Regions from separate parts of the Homo sapiens genome. Here region 2 is linked to region 1. Evidence: promoter capture Hi-C in human tissues and cell types (Jung and others, 2019). All regions are on one chromosome and are shown on one strand. The core of a region is centred on a gene start or on the middle of the fragment in contact, and the rest is flanking DNA. Distances in the headings are between cores, read along the strand shown.

Region 1 (7,697 bases), core at 2,281-4,780:
TTCTTTTTTTTGAAACAGGGTTTCACTCCAACACCCAGGCTAGAGTGTAGTGGTGCAGTCACGGCTCACTGTAGCCTGGACCTCCCTGGGCTCAGGCAATCCTCCCACCTCATCCTCCTGAGTGGCTGGGATTACAGGCACGCACCACCATTCCAGGCTAATTTTTACAATTTTTGTGGAAACAGGGTCTTGCCACGTTGCCTAGGCTGGTCTCAAACTCCTGGGCTCAAGTGATCTGTGTGCCTCTGCCTCCCTCTGTGCCCAGCCTAAGGCAGGTTTCTTAATCTCCCCTAGACTGTTTCTTTAATTGTATACTGGGAAGAGTAATAATAATGCCTCTGGTAGAAGGCTTCTGTCAGAATTTATTGACAAAACCCTTTCAGTGGTTAGCACAGTGACTGGCACATTAAATGTGGCTATTAATTATTGTATATGTATTATTACATATGGATGCTTGTAGCCTATCTCTTGGGTATGAGCCTTGTTTCCACAACTTGATTGCAAGCTTTGAGAGGGCAGGGACCAGCTCACGTAGTCCTCTCATCACCTAGCACAATGTCTTATAAATTTTATAGATCAGTAACGAGATTTAAAACTAAAGGGCAATTTGAGGCTGGATTGATTATAAAGGCCCTTGACTCTCAATTTCCCTAGGCCTGCCCTAAGCCTGTCTCCTACTCCAGTATAGCTGGAGTCCCCTTTGAGCTGTGGCAATGGGAGCTCTTGGCTGCTGCCTACTTGACAGCAGCGAATTCAATCAAATGTTCAGAAAATAGTCAAAGGTCTGAGGCCGTAATGCATGAGAGGTTCCAGACAGTCATGGCATTTAGGAGCTGTTTCTGCTTTTCTTAGGTATTTCTGGCTACTGGGCAGTGTGTAATTTCTTTGTCTCACCTAAGTGAAATAATGTAGAGTATAATTTATGTCCTCTCTCTTTAGCTCCTCATGCCCTGGTGATGAGCTAGCTAGTATTTTCCTTATCAAAGGACCTACTGTCACTGTCTGAACAACTCATCTGCAACAAGCTCGCATTTCACCCATGGTTAACGAACTGATTGGTGTCCTTTAAAAATGCTTTCTAAGTTTTACTCCCTCAATATTTTTTTTTTTACTCAACTGGGCTACTTACAAAAAGAACAAAGTTTAATACTGGTACATATTGAATTCCACCTGCTGTTTGTGAACGCTGAGCACAGCAGCCCTAGGTTTGGCAAGGCTGGATTTCCTTACCCATTGGTGTGACAGTTGCATTGTAATGTGGTATAATCCATAGGTTGAATGCAGGGCTTTGAGAATTTAAAATATTTGCATCTTCACAAGAAATATTTGGAAAGTTTGTATAAGGCCTAGTAAATCCAGTTGTGAGTGAATAGAATTTACCAAACTAAATTCACCTAGCATATGAAAATGTACATAAAACAAAATTAACAGGTAGTTGCTCATACTTAACAAAAAGATATTTAGTGCTTCTCATCACACTCAATTATTTCACATAATATTCTATTGTTTTCTTTCTCCTAAAAAATAATTGTTTTAAGCTCTCAGCTCTTCTCTTTTAATTTGAGCAAACTAAAAATATCTTGAGAATGGCCCATCTCACCTCATCAAAGAAGTTTCCTTTGTATCAAGTTTATTAATTCACTCATCCTTTCCTGATCTTTGATACTGAGACTGCTATAAAAAGGACAATGGATGCTAAAGATAACACGTGAAGTAGGTTTGTTAGACCTTTTTTTTGACCCTTGGTATCTTCAGCTTTCTGAAGGCCAGGTAATGTCTGCATTCTGAATATGTTAGGGGACATATGAATCCATAGGACATATTTTAAGCAGAATTGTATCATTGTTTCCCTTGTTGCTATTTTACTTTCCCAAACCATTGCAGAGCTTTTTGCCAATGACATTTTCTCATCCGCAGCCAGCTCTGCCACTCTTTTGCTATTTCTTCTGTCGACTTCCATTTTAATTTAAAAAATAAATTTATAATTTTTTTAGTTCTGTTTTGTCAATGTATACCTGCAGCCGCACACACATTTGATTATAGCTGCATAGTGTGGAAAATCTTGCAATTAGATTCCAAAATGACAGCCGGTGTAATTTACAAAGTACAAAAGTGTTATGTTAAAGCACTCTCAGCAATAAATAAAAATAGCTTTTTTGGAGGAGGAAATAACTTTGGAGAGAACTAGGCTGGAGGAGGAAGCAATCTACACTCTTAGGAAAGGAAGAGCCACATCTAGGAAAGCATCCGAGGGACAAGGACAACAGAAACACAAGAGGCTCTTGATCTCAGGCAGTCCTCCAAGAGGCACCTGACAGAGGGCAGTTAGGTTGCCTTGATTTGCCAGTTTCTGTCCTGAAAGATACACTGGACCTTTATTTCCCAAGGACTACTCATTCAGCATTGTTGAGCACCTAAATTGTGCTGGAGATCGCACAGGAACTGGGCTTGCGAAAATGAAAATTGCACACAGTTCCTGTCTTCAGGCGCTCACAGAGTTTTTAAAACAGAACATCTTAAGAGGGAGTTATAAGGGGCCCTGTTGCAAAAAGAGAGCAGCAACTAAAATCTTGGAAAAGCCCTCAGGACACCACAGAGGAAGCAAGCTGTGATCACAGAACTTTGAAAGGCTTTTGTATCTTTCGACAATAAATGATCAAGTGAAGTAAATACATTGTCCAGAAGAGAAAGAATTGGGATGGAGGATGAGATTTTATATGGAAGGATTAAAACATATTTAACTGGAGCAGGGACTTACAGGGACAGGCAAGTCAGTAAAGGGCCCAGGTTACAAACGAGTTATAACCGATCAGACCGACGAGCGCCCGCGTGCAGCGCCTCCTGCCGACGCGCGCCTCGCAGCCTTCAGTCAATGCTGACAGCTGTTCTCCAACACCCAGCTAGGGGCGGGAGGGTCCGCCCACTTCTACCAGATTTTGCACACAAAACAGTGGAAAGACCATTCTCATGGCTCCAAGCCGTTTTCTCCCTTCATCGCCTGCAATTTTAGGGCTTTTCGGGGGGTATGACTGCAGGGATTTTAGAGGTTTTTTTCCTCATTCTCTTTTTAAGAGGTGATAAAAAGCATTTAAATTAGCGGCAGGGCGGTTAACACCCGCAGCCCTAGCCTCTCCGCACTTCTCGTCGCTCGTCCGTGTTCACTCCACGCCTGGCCTCGGGTAGGAGCCGCATAGCGCCAACGGTTGCGGGTCGCAACTACTCCCAGGCGGCGCGCCTTGCGCGCCGGGCCTCCCAGGACCGCGGCGAGTTCAGAAGGCGCGGGGAGAGAAGTGAGGTCGAGCAGCGGGCGGCTTTTGACGAACGGCCCTCACAGCCAATGGGAAGCCCGGTCGACTTTCCCGCCCCTGCCAATAGGGAGCAGAACCCGGGCCGGGGGGGGCGCTTCCCGCAGGCTGCGGCTGGATTCGATCCTGCGCGACGGCCGCGAAGGCGGGGGCGGAGGCTCGGCCTGCGCGGCTGGGAGCGGCTTAGGGGAGGAGGGAAGACCGGAAGCCACGGTTGCGTCCCCATCCTTAGATTCGCTCCTCCGGGCAGGGAGCGGAGACGGAGGAGGAGGAGGGAGAGGCTGAATGTTGGCTCGGTAATTGAGAGGAGCGGCCGCTCCAGAGCTTCCTCCCGGGGCGCCCCCCTCAGTCCGTCCGCGCTTCTCAGCCGCCAGTCTCCTGGCCGCGCAGTCCCCGCGGACGGCCGGGCCGCGGAGACCCTCGCAGAAGAGGCGCTGCCGGCGGCGAGGACTGGCCGGCGGCATCCGAGGCGCGCGCCCCACCGCCACCCCCACCCGCCTGCCAGCCGGTCCCTCCGGCCGCCGCCATGTCCTCCTCCTCTTCCTCCCCCAGGGAGACGTACGAGGAGGACCGGGAGTACGAGAGCCAGGCCAAGCGTCTCAAGACCGAGGAGGGGGAGATCGACTACTCGGCCGAGGAAGGCGAGAACCGCCGGGAAGCGACGCCCCGGGGCGGGGGCGATGGCGGCGGCGGCGGCCGGAGCTTCTCTCAGCCGGTAACAAAGCGCGGCCCCCCTGTCCGCTGTGCCTGGCTGCTCCCCGGGAAGCAGGGCCTCGGTGCGGGGCCTCCCGCTTGCTTCAGTTAGCCTTTTCCGCTGCGCCGACCCGTTTGGGGAAGCGCCCACTCTTCTCTTTGGGGCTCGTATTCTGGCCTCTACCTGTTTCCCGCATCCCGACTGCGAACCCGGCGCCGTCCTGGCCGCAGGCCCCGCAGCGAGTCCACTGCCGGGCCCTGAACTTGGGGAGGGTCGCGGCGCGGCGGCGGCGGCGGGGAGGCGTCGCTTCCGCTCTGGGGGGTTTCGCGGCTCGGGGAGCTCTTTGTTAGTTTAACTCCTCGGGCTCGGGGCCAGCGTCGGGACCACCGGTTCTCTTCAGTCCCTCTGCCCGCAGCAGCCGCGCGTTGGTCACCATCCCGGGATGGTTGCGTCGGTTCTACCGGGAGCTCTCTCCGCCTCGGTCCTATGGAGACCCGTAATTAAATAACAGATTATGCCTTGGCGTTCACATGCTAGTTCCCTTGAAGGTTTAATTTAAAAAATTTTAAAATTAAACTCTTTATAAGCATGGCGTGCATCCTTTGCTCTACCCAATTTTGTGGATTACTCAGTACACTTTTTACCTCTTCGGTTACAACACTTCAACAGAAGTGTTGGCAGCTGTTGGTACACCCCTACCTTCAAGTAAAACAAATCTTAAAATTACTAAAGTTTTTCATTGGTAATTTATTCCACATTTGCCCCATGAAAGGATGAAGTGAGCTCAGGGTTGCATTAAACACACATTCCTAGAGCCAGGTCTTTCTCTTACCAGAAATGTTAGGGGGAGGCAGAAGGAATGTGATCATTTTGTCCACAGCAAGTAGTTAGCTTCAGTTGGATGGAGACTTTAAGGAAACAAAGCGGAGCAAACGTTATTGCCCTTTTTTGGTGCACTTAAGCGGTTTTAATGACTTAGATGTTATTTAAACATTTAACACATGAATTGTGATTAATTCTGCAAACTTTAACAGAATTACGAAACTGTACACATATATCCTACTATTAGGTTAAAAGGGTTTTTACCTTACCTTTTAAAAATAAGACGCACATTAGAAGCCCTTTATAGCCGTTTGAATTTTTAAATAATAAAAAAAAAGGCTGGTCAGTCACCCAGCGTTGCAGTTTCCAGTTACCAGGATGTGAGAGCAAACTTTGCAACACATTTAAAAAAGGAACTTTTTCTCTCAGTCTTGTTACGGTGTTAGCTATTACTTTAGATTTTTGTGCCGAGCTATTTGAAATATTCAAAATGTAACTTGGAAGTGTGAATAAAGGAAATGGTTTTTTCTTAGGAAGTTTCAGTTCAAAGCCAACTCTGTTGTGGAAATTGGAAACAGGAATATTATAACTGATATTTCGATGTATTCGATCAGTGTACCTCGTTGCTAGAAATCTTGCTTGGGTTTTTGTGCAGCATCATGAAATGTCTTCAGGCATTTTGGAAAGATACTTAAATCAGATTATAAAAATTTGTTTTTGAAAACAGATAAAGCATTAAATCAATAGTATTATTTTGGATGTTGGGAAGAAAATAACATATAATTAATGTATCCAAAGCGAAATGTGTGGAGCGGTGGAAATGGCACTGAGTAGGGCTTGGGGGTGGTCAAGAGTCTAGGCTTAGCATACAATTTTTTTTTTTTTTTGAGAGGATCTCACTCTATGGCCCGGGGCTGGAGTGCAGCAGCTCTGGAGTGCAGCAGCTCGTGATCACGGCTCACTGCAGCCTTGATCTCCCTGTCTCAAGCGATCCTCCTACCTCAGCCTCCCGGGTTGCTGGGACTGGAAGCCTGCATCACCACGCCGGGCCAATTTTTTTTTTCTGTGTTTTGTAGAGAAGGGGTTTCACCATATTGCCAAAGCTAGTCTCTTAACTCCTGGGCTCAAGAGATCCACCTGAGTTGGCCTCCCAAAGTGCTGGGATTACAGCCGTGAGCCACCGCACCTGGTCTTAGCATACAATTTGTGTGAGTCTGAGAAAGTCAGTTTACTACTCTGAGTTCTCTTAGTCTGTAAAATATGAAGGTTGAAACACATGCCTTTTTTAACCGAAGCTATAGTTAAGTGATTAACGTAATGCTAATGCTGCTTTTAAGTTACCCCGGCGGGAACTGATATAAGCAGATTGAGGTATAAATTTTAATTTTTTTGTTTATCTTACTGCTGATATGTTTCCTAGGAAAGGGTGAATTGTTTTCATTTAACAGTAAAACCATCATTGTACTATGAAATCTAATGAAGCCTTGTTTATCTTGTTTTTAAATATTTTTCATGTAATTTTTGGTACTATTTTGAAATCATGGCAACTATGGAAACCTGTACATAATAAAATTCTATTATTAGGATAGACGTTCCCCGGATAGAAGTTTACTGTCTTGTGCTTCTTCGTTCACATGTTTGGTAATTCATTGTAACCGAAAAGGGTTTTGCACAACTTCAGTGGTCCTTCAGCCCAGAGAAGAAATACCTTTGTGGTCAGACTGTTAAAGTAAATGCAGGTTAGGTACAATGATGGCATTCTTTTCAACTCTAGTTGGAAGTTTGTAAAGTGCAAAGTAAGCCTTTGAAGATTTACATTGCTTGGTTTTTTATGATTAACCTTGAGTGCTTTGATAATATATTGACTACATTTAAAGAGGAAAGTGAGTATTTAAGAAAAACATAGTGGTTCTACAAAGGCTCTTAACTTAGAAATGAATGGATAATTGTGAGTGATCATTATGTTGAAGGTACAAAGAGAAATGAGAGAAGAGTTAATACTTTGGATATGAGAAATAAAACACCCTTCAAATTTGTGTCTTCTGGTACCTTTTTTTAATAGAGCAAAAAACTCCTAGGGTTTTTCACATTCACTGAGCTGCATTGTTGAATAAGGCTTGATTATAGAGGTTCCTGCCACATATTATACAGTTACTTTTTTCTTGTGGAGTAGTGTTCTTAAATTTAATAGGCATGACCTTCAAGATCATATTAAGTTTCTGTATCTTCTTTTAAGAAGGCAGCTTGACTTGGAAATATTAAGGCTTCACTTGGGAAAACCACTTGAGGAATTGGGATGGAGTGCTAATTTATTTTGGAGATTTTAAAGTTTTTCTGTTTTCTGCTAGTGAATAAACAGGCAAATCAAAGATTATTAAGTGGTTTGCTGATGAAGTGAAAATTTGTTTCTCAACTTTTAGTAAATAGACGTGAAAGATGGCAAAATGCCAAGATAAAATTGTTGCTCCTAGGATTTCCAAACAAAGGATTATACAGCACATTGAAAATCCAGTTTGAATTCAGGATACACTATTCTGTTATACTTGCACAATGTAAATTACTAATGATAGCAATATTACTGTGATCTGTTAGATGCATATGGGTTGGGAGATGGGATGAGGTCACTTAGCTCTCACAGGAGAAGTTTAGAAGACTGTGTAGTAACTACTTCATGGAAATAAAGTAGTTAAAGGATGTGTGCCCCAGAGGTAAGTGCCAGAGCCTGAGGCTTGCATAGCAGTAGTGTCTTGTGTCTCCTCCAGCGAAGCTGTTCTAGTAGAGTGAGGATTTTTAGGCCTAGTTTGGGGAAAGAAATGAAAAGTAGTAGGTTTTACCATCTTTTGGTTTTAGACTGTTTCTTCATGTTAGTATGTTAC
Region 2 (7,697 bases), core at 3,354-5,853, 550 kb after region 1:
CAGTCTGAAGTAAAATAATCTCAGCGCACTCCACAGCAGATGACATTGGCCCATAATCAGCACTGGCTTCTGGCTTGGCCGATGGCACTGGTGGGTCCAGACCGTTCCCTGCCATTGACTCTTGAGCTCATTCCAATCATCTTCCCCTTGGAGCACTGAAGCAAATCTGATAACTCAGTGCCTGCATTTCCTTCACATGGGGAGGATGTAAGAGGACACTTGTCCTTAATGCCCACTCCTTGGTGTTGCCTCCTTCAGGAAGGCTTCCCTGACTACTCACTTGTTCCTAAAGAATAACCAGAGAACAAACAGGCTCTTGGAACTAACATACTTTTCAACAATGCCTTTAAATATAATTTAAAATGGCCTGATGATTCTTTAATTTTATGTGCACCAAAGGACTCCACACTGATTCTTTTAAGCACTTAATGGAACTTCTCCTGGAACATTTTCTACACTATGTCTAGCCTTTGAGTCAAAGTTTTATTATATCTGATTGAAAAAGATTTCCACCCTCATCCCAGTGGGGTTGCTGAGAAAAGCAGGCAGCCTCGTGTTCTGTTTGGGGGGATCTCCCATCCCCTGGTGTTGTGCTGTGTACCCAGCATGCTTTCCTGGCTGTCTCTAACTTTATTGTTTAACCCCACAGCCCTTGGCCATTATCTAGGCCATTGGACCCCACAAGTCAGGTCATATCAGCTTTGAGAGCACCACTCAGCTCCCAGACCCACAATACTGAAAGCTGCTGGTGTCCACTGGATCTGGTGGATGTTTGTGAATCCCAGGATGCTCTGAGCTTGTCTTTCCTGCACCTCCCCTGTCACTCTCCCTGCTCACATTCAGAAGGCCAAAGGGCCACCTCTGTTCTCTTACTGCACATCCCAGCAATCAGTATTTAAATTTGAGACTCTTATTCTGCAATTCCCACAGCCCGCAAGCAAATCCAGTTGGCATTCTAGAGCTTGGCACTGATATTGAGGAAAAAAGTGGGGAAACACAGGCTGGACAAAGCGGTGGAAGAATAAGGTTAACTTTTCACTGTGTGTTTTCCAATGTGGTTTCCAGGAATGATTGCTGTAAAAATGGGCAAGCCTGCCTGCTCTCTTGTTTTGATTTCTAACTTCAAGAGATAGCTCTGGAAACGTCTATCAAGGCCTTGTTAATAAAAAACAAAATGGTCGGGTGTGGTGGCTCATGCCTGTAATCCCAGCACTTTGGGAGGCCAAGGCTGGCGGATCATGAGGTCAGGAGATCGAGACCATCCTGCGTAACACAGTGAAATCCTGTCTCTACTAAAAAAAATAAAATAAAATAAAATAAAATAAAATAAAATAAAATAAAATAAAATAAAATAAAATAGCTGGGCGTCGTGGCACACACCTGTAGTCCCAGCTACTCGGGAGGCTGAGGCAGGAAAATCATTTGAACCTGAGAGGCGGAGGTTGCAGTGAGCCGAGATCGAGTCACTGCACTCCAGCCTGGGTGACAGAGCGAGACTCCGTCTCAAAAACAAAAAAACAAAAACAAAAACAAAAAAAACCAACGACAACAAAAAACCACACACACACAAAACCCTGTCCTTCTTCTTCAGTGCCCCGCCAGGGCTTATTTTCTTTGCAACAGAGTGTAGGGGAGTTTAGGTCATCATACAGACCTGCCCTTGGCTCTGCAGAGGTCAGCACCTTTCTCATTTTCTTTGCCCACGTCCCTACATCAGTCTAGCTTGAGTTCATCTCTCATCTCTCTAATGAAGCCTCCTCTGACCACATTATTTAATACTTAGCCTGCCCCCACAAGCTCCCTCGACATGCCTACCTTGCTCTACTTTTTCTGTTCCCTACGCTCCCAACACATAAAACATTTATTTCCTGTTAATATAACATAAAATAACCTTTACATTTTGATGATGATTTACTGTCTGTCTCCGTCCCCACTCCAGTTCCCAGGATATAAACTCTACAGGGGTGGACATTTTTATGTTCCTTGGAAAGTGGAATATCCAATCATCTTGCTGGATTTTCTACACAATATCCAACCACTGGTTTGCATTATATTTTAAATTCTGATGGTATGATCACTGCCCAAATAATCTACTCACAAAAAGAAATTAGTTAAGCCAGCTGTTTATTGTCCTACTGACCTGTGCTGTACAATGTAGTAGCCACTAGTCACATGTGGCTATTTAAATTTAAATTAATTAAAATTAAAAAAATTAAAAAATCAATTCCTTATTCACATCAGCCTTATTTCAGGTGCTTGGAAGCCACATGGGGATAGTGGCTACTGTTGTGAGAGGCACAGATATAAAACGCTTCCATCATAGCGGAAAGTTCTATTGGACAGTGCTTCTATAATTGAACCCATTTCAATTTATTGGACGTTTTACTTTTATTCAATTGGTAACTATTTATTACTACTTTGGGTAAAACACTATGATAAGAATCATGAGAAATACTCAGGGAGGATTCAGGGGCCCCTCCTCCGAGTAAGTGAGTGTGAACATAAATATAATATAAAGATACATACACAAGAGTTTTCAGGTAGTTTCAGATAATGTGCTTCAAGGAAAGGAGAGATTTGCGTTTTCCAATGACCTGGCTTTTTCCCATAGGCAGAGGAGCCAACATCTCCAGTGGAAAATAAACTCAGGTCGCAATAGGAAATAAAAGAAAGCTTCTTAGAGTAGGTAGGTCTGAAACAGAAAACTGCCCATAACCTCAGTTCTGAAACACAGAAAACGAACACCTTGATAAAAGTAAGGAAGACGATCCACATAAGGTTATATTTTGGTGGAAAAGTTAACTCCAAACAAGGAAATTCAAAGCTATGGTTCCTTATGTTCTATGGGTTCTGCTCTTGCTTCTCCTTCACCTTTGCCTTGGGACAAGCAGCCCCCACACCTGCAGACACAATTTCTGGTCCTGAAGTCCCCTGCCTGAGCAGAGCTGAGAAAAGCTGATGAGGGCTAACAGAATCTGGGGCGTTGCTTCTCCAAGCCTTCCCTTCCAAGGCTGGGAATTAAAGTTCAAAGAGGGTCTTCCCCTCATGCTGCTTCTTCCTGCAGGGCAAAGCTTGAAGGCTTGACCTAAAGAGCTATGTCAATGGATGATGAGAGATTGAATGCTATTTTTCAGATACCTGAGATTTTTCCACCCTGGGCTCCTTCACCCCCTTCCCTAGCCCACAGGGCTGACTCACACTGACCTGGGTTTTTCCCAAAGGCAGAGAAGTCAACATCTCCAGTAGAAAATAAACTCAGGTCAAAAGAACAAGGCATGTGAGGAGCACAATTATTTCCAAAGAAAAAAGGTTAAATTTCCAAGAGTTAAGGTGGCTTTCTAATGCTGCTATTATGAGTCGGACATTTTCCTGGGTAGTTACTCTGCTACTGTTCAGATAGCCTCAATGGGCTCTGTATTAGTCTATTCTCACAGTCCTATGAAGAAATACCTGAGACTGGGTAATTTATAAAGCAAAGAGGTTTAATTGGTTCACGGTTCTGCAGGCTGTACAGAAAGTATAGCAGCAGCTTCTGCTTCTGGGGAGGCCTCAGGAAACTGACAATCGTGGCAGAAGGCAAAGGGGAAACAGGCACTTCTTACATGGCTGGATCAGAAGGAAGAGGGAGGGGGAAGGTGCTACATACTTTTAAACAACCAGATCTCATGAGAATCCACTCACTATACAGTACCAAGGGGGATGGTACTGAACCATTCATGAGAACTCTGCCCATTGATCCAATCACCTCCTACCATGCCCCACCACCAACACTGGGGATTACTATTGAATATGAGATTTGAGTGGGGACATAGATCTAAACCATATCAAATAAAGTGGTTTCTATATCAGGCTCCATTGGCTACCAGCATCTTGGTAAGATGAATCTCCTGTGGTTTACAGCAGAGGTCAGCAAACTATGGCCCATGGTCCAAATCTGGTCCACCACCCATTTTCCATAGCTTGTGAGCTATGCATTATTTTTACACTTTTAAATAGTAGAAAGAAATCAAAAGAGGAAAAGTATTTTATGACACATGAACATTTTATGAAATTCAAATTTCAGTATCCATAAATAAAGTTATGTTGGAGCACAGCCATGCTCATTTGACTGTAATGCCTATGGCAGCTTTTGTACTACAGCAGCAGAGTTGGGTAGTTGTAACAAAGACCACAAGGCACCTGCAAAGCCTGAAATATTTACTACCTGGCTCTTACAGGAAAAGTTTGCCAATCCTGGTCTGCACCATCTATTTCTCACAGCACCAACTAGTAATAGTAACAACCTCTTCATGTTTCTAAAGCACTTTATGGTTGACAAATCACTTCTATGTACATCATTTCCACCTCTGTTTTGAATGGCCCTGGACTGTGCTAGAGCCCTGGACAGTTGATGCTGCTTCACAGAGAGTCATGAACCCACAAAGCTAAGACCCCAAATAAGGCACTAGGAAGCAGAAACAGGTCAAAGGCATTTTTCACAAAGGCAATATTCCATATTGCAAGTGGAGGCATTTTAGCATAGACTAGAGAATGCAGCAGTTAAATGGAAGGAAAAAATCAGACCCACACAGTGTAATAACATAACTAAAACAAAACTGAAAAAAGCTTATAATTTCAGGACTTAAAACCCTTGCTTAATTAAGTTCTTCTTCCTAATTGGGTCTCCATCATTTTATATCATTTAGGGGTATGTCATAATTTCACAATTCTTACACATAGCCTAAGAATGCACCTAATCAAACAAAATTCATTCTCTTATCTAGTCACATGGGACACCCTGAAATAAGTTTGGGAGAATTATTATATGTTCTTACATGCTGAGCACAGTAAATCAAGTGTAATATAGTTTTATATACATTCAGATCATCCAGGCCATCATTTATTCAGCATCTATTATGTCTCTAAGCATTGTTAAGCACTAGTAGATACTATTCTAAGATAAAACTGTTATAAAAATAAACACATGCCCTGATGCAGAGGTGTTCATTTCCTGTTTGAGGAGACACACCGGCATGCCCCAACACAGTGTGATTGATGTTGTAGTAAGTGGTGTATGAAGTGCTTTGGGAACAACGATTAAGAACTACGTAATTCTCCTAGAGACTGTGTGGACATGAGGGTTAGGAAAGGCTCCATAGAGGAGATGCCCTATGAGCTGGGCCTAGATGCTTAGGGGTTGACTAGAGAGACACAATATCAGGGAGGGAGGATGAGAGGATCCTGGACAACGCCCTCCGTGATGAAAGGACCTGCTCCCCACTGGATCCCGGGTGCCTGGCACAGTGCTGCCCCGTCCTATGTGCTCAGTAATAAAATATCTGTTTGAATGAATGTGATGTGCTTGGAGGTGGCAATGATCCAGGTGAGGTGGGGAGCACACGTATGTGTTTGCATGCAGTGTGTGTGTGTATTTGTGTGTGTGTCAGGGTGAGGGAGTGTGGCAGGTACTGTTAATGTCTACCCAATATCCATCACCCTACTTGTTAACAGAACCTTGATTTTTTTCCAGTTATCCAGTCTTCAGGGAAGATGACTCTGTCTCAACTCACAGTAAATCCTGACTAGCCTAAATCAATCATAAAATTCCTATTCCCCTTGCAGTAATTGGTATAGACAGGGGCATGCAATCTATTCCAGCTGATGAGTTGCAAGGGGAAGGTCTATTGAAGGGCTGCTTGAAGGGTTTCTTTGTTCTTTAAAAGACACACACACAAGTAAGAGACAGTGCATCCTCCTCTGTCGAATGCTATTGTGTCTGGATGTGACTCCTGCAGTGATCTTGTAGTCATGAAGGGAGCTAACCTGAGGACCAAGCTGATACTTCAAAAATGACTGTATGAAAAGATGCAAAGATCTTGTCCTTGATGGGGTCATCAAGCCATTAAGTAAACCAACTTAGAGCTTCCTACGCTTCTGATTTTCCTCCAAAGTGAGACAACTAATTTCCTACTTTATAGGACACAGTTGAGTAAGGATTTTCTATTTCTGGTTCTAAGAGCCAAAGACATTTTAACAGATGGGTCAGCTATGTATATAGGGTGAGGGTGAGGTTGGGGAGGTAGGTTGAGGCAGGCTGCAAAGGCTACATGCTGGGTTGAGGAGTCTGTTTTTTTTTCCCATAGGATCCTGGGGTGGGTTGCACAGGAGGAATTAAAACAGGCAAGTGCTTTAGAACGGCAACTTTGACTGCAAGATGTGACAATGGCTTAGAGGGAAGGAGTGAAACTAGGCGGATCATCAAGCGGGGACGGCTATGAAATCATCTAGGCAAGAGGGAAAGTAGACCTGGTCCTGGCCTCACTGAGGAAATAGAGAAGGAGTGGGATTTGAAAGACATCTCAGAGATATAATAAGCAATGCTTGCAATACAAAACTGATAATATACTGTTCTAAAAATATGGTTTATGGTACATAAGACATTTCTGGTAACTTTCTGAATGTGTTTTATTAGTTTTACAAATATAACATGATATCCAAATAATTTCCTGGTGGGACACTTGGAGCCCTTTGTCCCCCCGTCCTTTTGAGAGAGCAGAGCCCTTACTATGGAGCATGTCCTGTGCTGTATTCTATATTAAGTGTGGGCTTGAAGAGGGATGGTCCAGTAGTGAGGTGTCCAGAGTCGTGCACTGGGTAGTTTGACTGCATGGAGCTGGCTGGCAAATCATGGCAGAAATGTTCCTTAAGAAAGATGGTAGAGAAGAGAGAAGAGAATTCATAAATGGGTAGGTGGTCATGCTGCAAGCCACAGAGTGACCCAAAAGAAACAGAGAATTGAACCCTGGAGCAACAAAGCACACGGGAGGGGACAATAAACATGGAGGAAAATGCATTCATTTATTAATCTTGTGATGTAAGACTCTAGTCTTTTCTTTAACCATGCATCTCCATTTTGGAATTTGGGGTATATTTTTTAAGTGAACTATATCCATAATGCATCACCTATGATGTGTAGTTTCTGTGTATTTAAAGTGGAGCAAAAATTTAAAAAATACTTGCAGATCAGTTTGAATGTAGAATTTTTAAGATTGTTCTAATATTTTCTCCAATGTTTTATAGTTGCCTAATCTAACAGTAAAATACTTTTAGCATGTCAACTTTACTGAGTCTTTCCAAAGCATTCATCTTTTTTGTGTTCATCAGTACAGCAGCTCTTTATTTTCACAGTATTACTTGATGAGTTTAATACTATTTAATAAATTAAATTATGTAATTTTGGGAATAATACGCATAAAACAAACCCAAATGATTCTAGATAAACAGAATTCAACTTGAGGAAGCAGAAGTGCACAGGCAAAGTCAAGATTAGCCCACTGGCCATTAGTGTTCAGAGTGTGGGGCATCTACTAGTATAGTTCATAGGAATGAGGTGAGTACAGTAATCTGATAAGTGGTCAACTGGAAATTAATCAATAAAACTCCTAGAATATCTGAATAATAAATTCAACCAATGAGTCGTTCTTGGTAGGTTTACTTCCTCTAACTCTCTGTCTATCAAAATAACTATTTAAAATGAGAGGTTTTCAGTGCTGGCTGCACATTAGAGTCACCTGGAACTTTGAAAAAAATAATGCTTGTGAGTTTGCTCCCCAGGCAAATTAAATCAGAATCTCTAGGGTAGGATCCTGGCATTGGTATTTTTTTCAGAGTGCCCCAGTAAATGCTAATATGCAGCCAGATTTGAGAACCACTGAATA

The links. Contacts are between HindIII fragments. The study calls those that stand out against the background at their distance.
Region 2: a contact is called between a fragment that was not itself captured here and the fragment with the promoter of HNRNPLL in region 1, in 1 of the 25 tissues and cell types used here (heart right ventricle).

What each region holds. Positions count from the first base shown.
Region 1 is chr2:38,598,761-38,606,457 of GRCh38, reverse strand. HNRNPLL (heterogeneous nuclear ribonucleoprotein L like) reads left to right here and starts at 3,530. Exons shown (of 13, transcript NM_138394.4): 1 at 3,530-4,020. The coding sequence starts at 3,832. RefSeq lists silencers at 3,351-3,420, 3,641-3,690, 3,711-3,810. The HindIII fragment of the contact is 14,663 bases long and covers 1-7,697 here.
Region 2 is chr2:38,053,724-38,061,420 of GRCh38, reverse strand. It overlaps a transcript of RMDN2 not described here. Among named protein-coding and RNA genes, the nearest start is that of CYP1B1, 19 kb to the left of the region's middle. The HindIII fragment of the contact is 3,461 bases long and covers 2,873-6,333 here.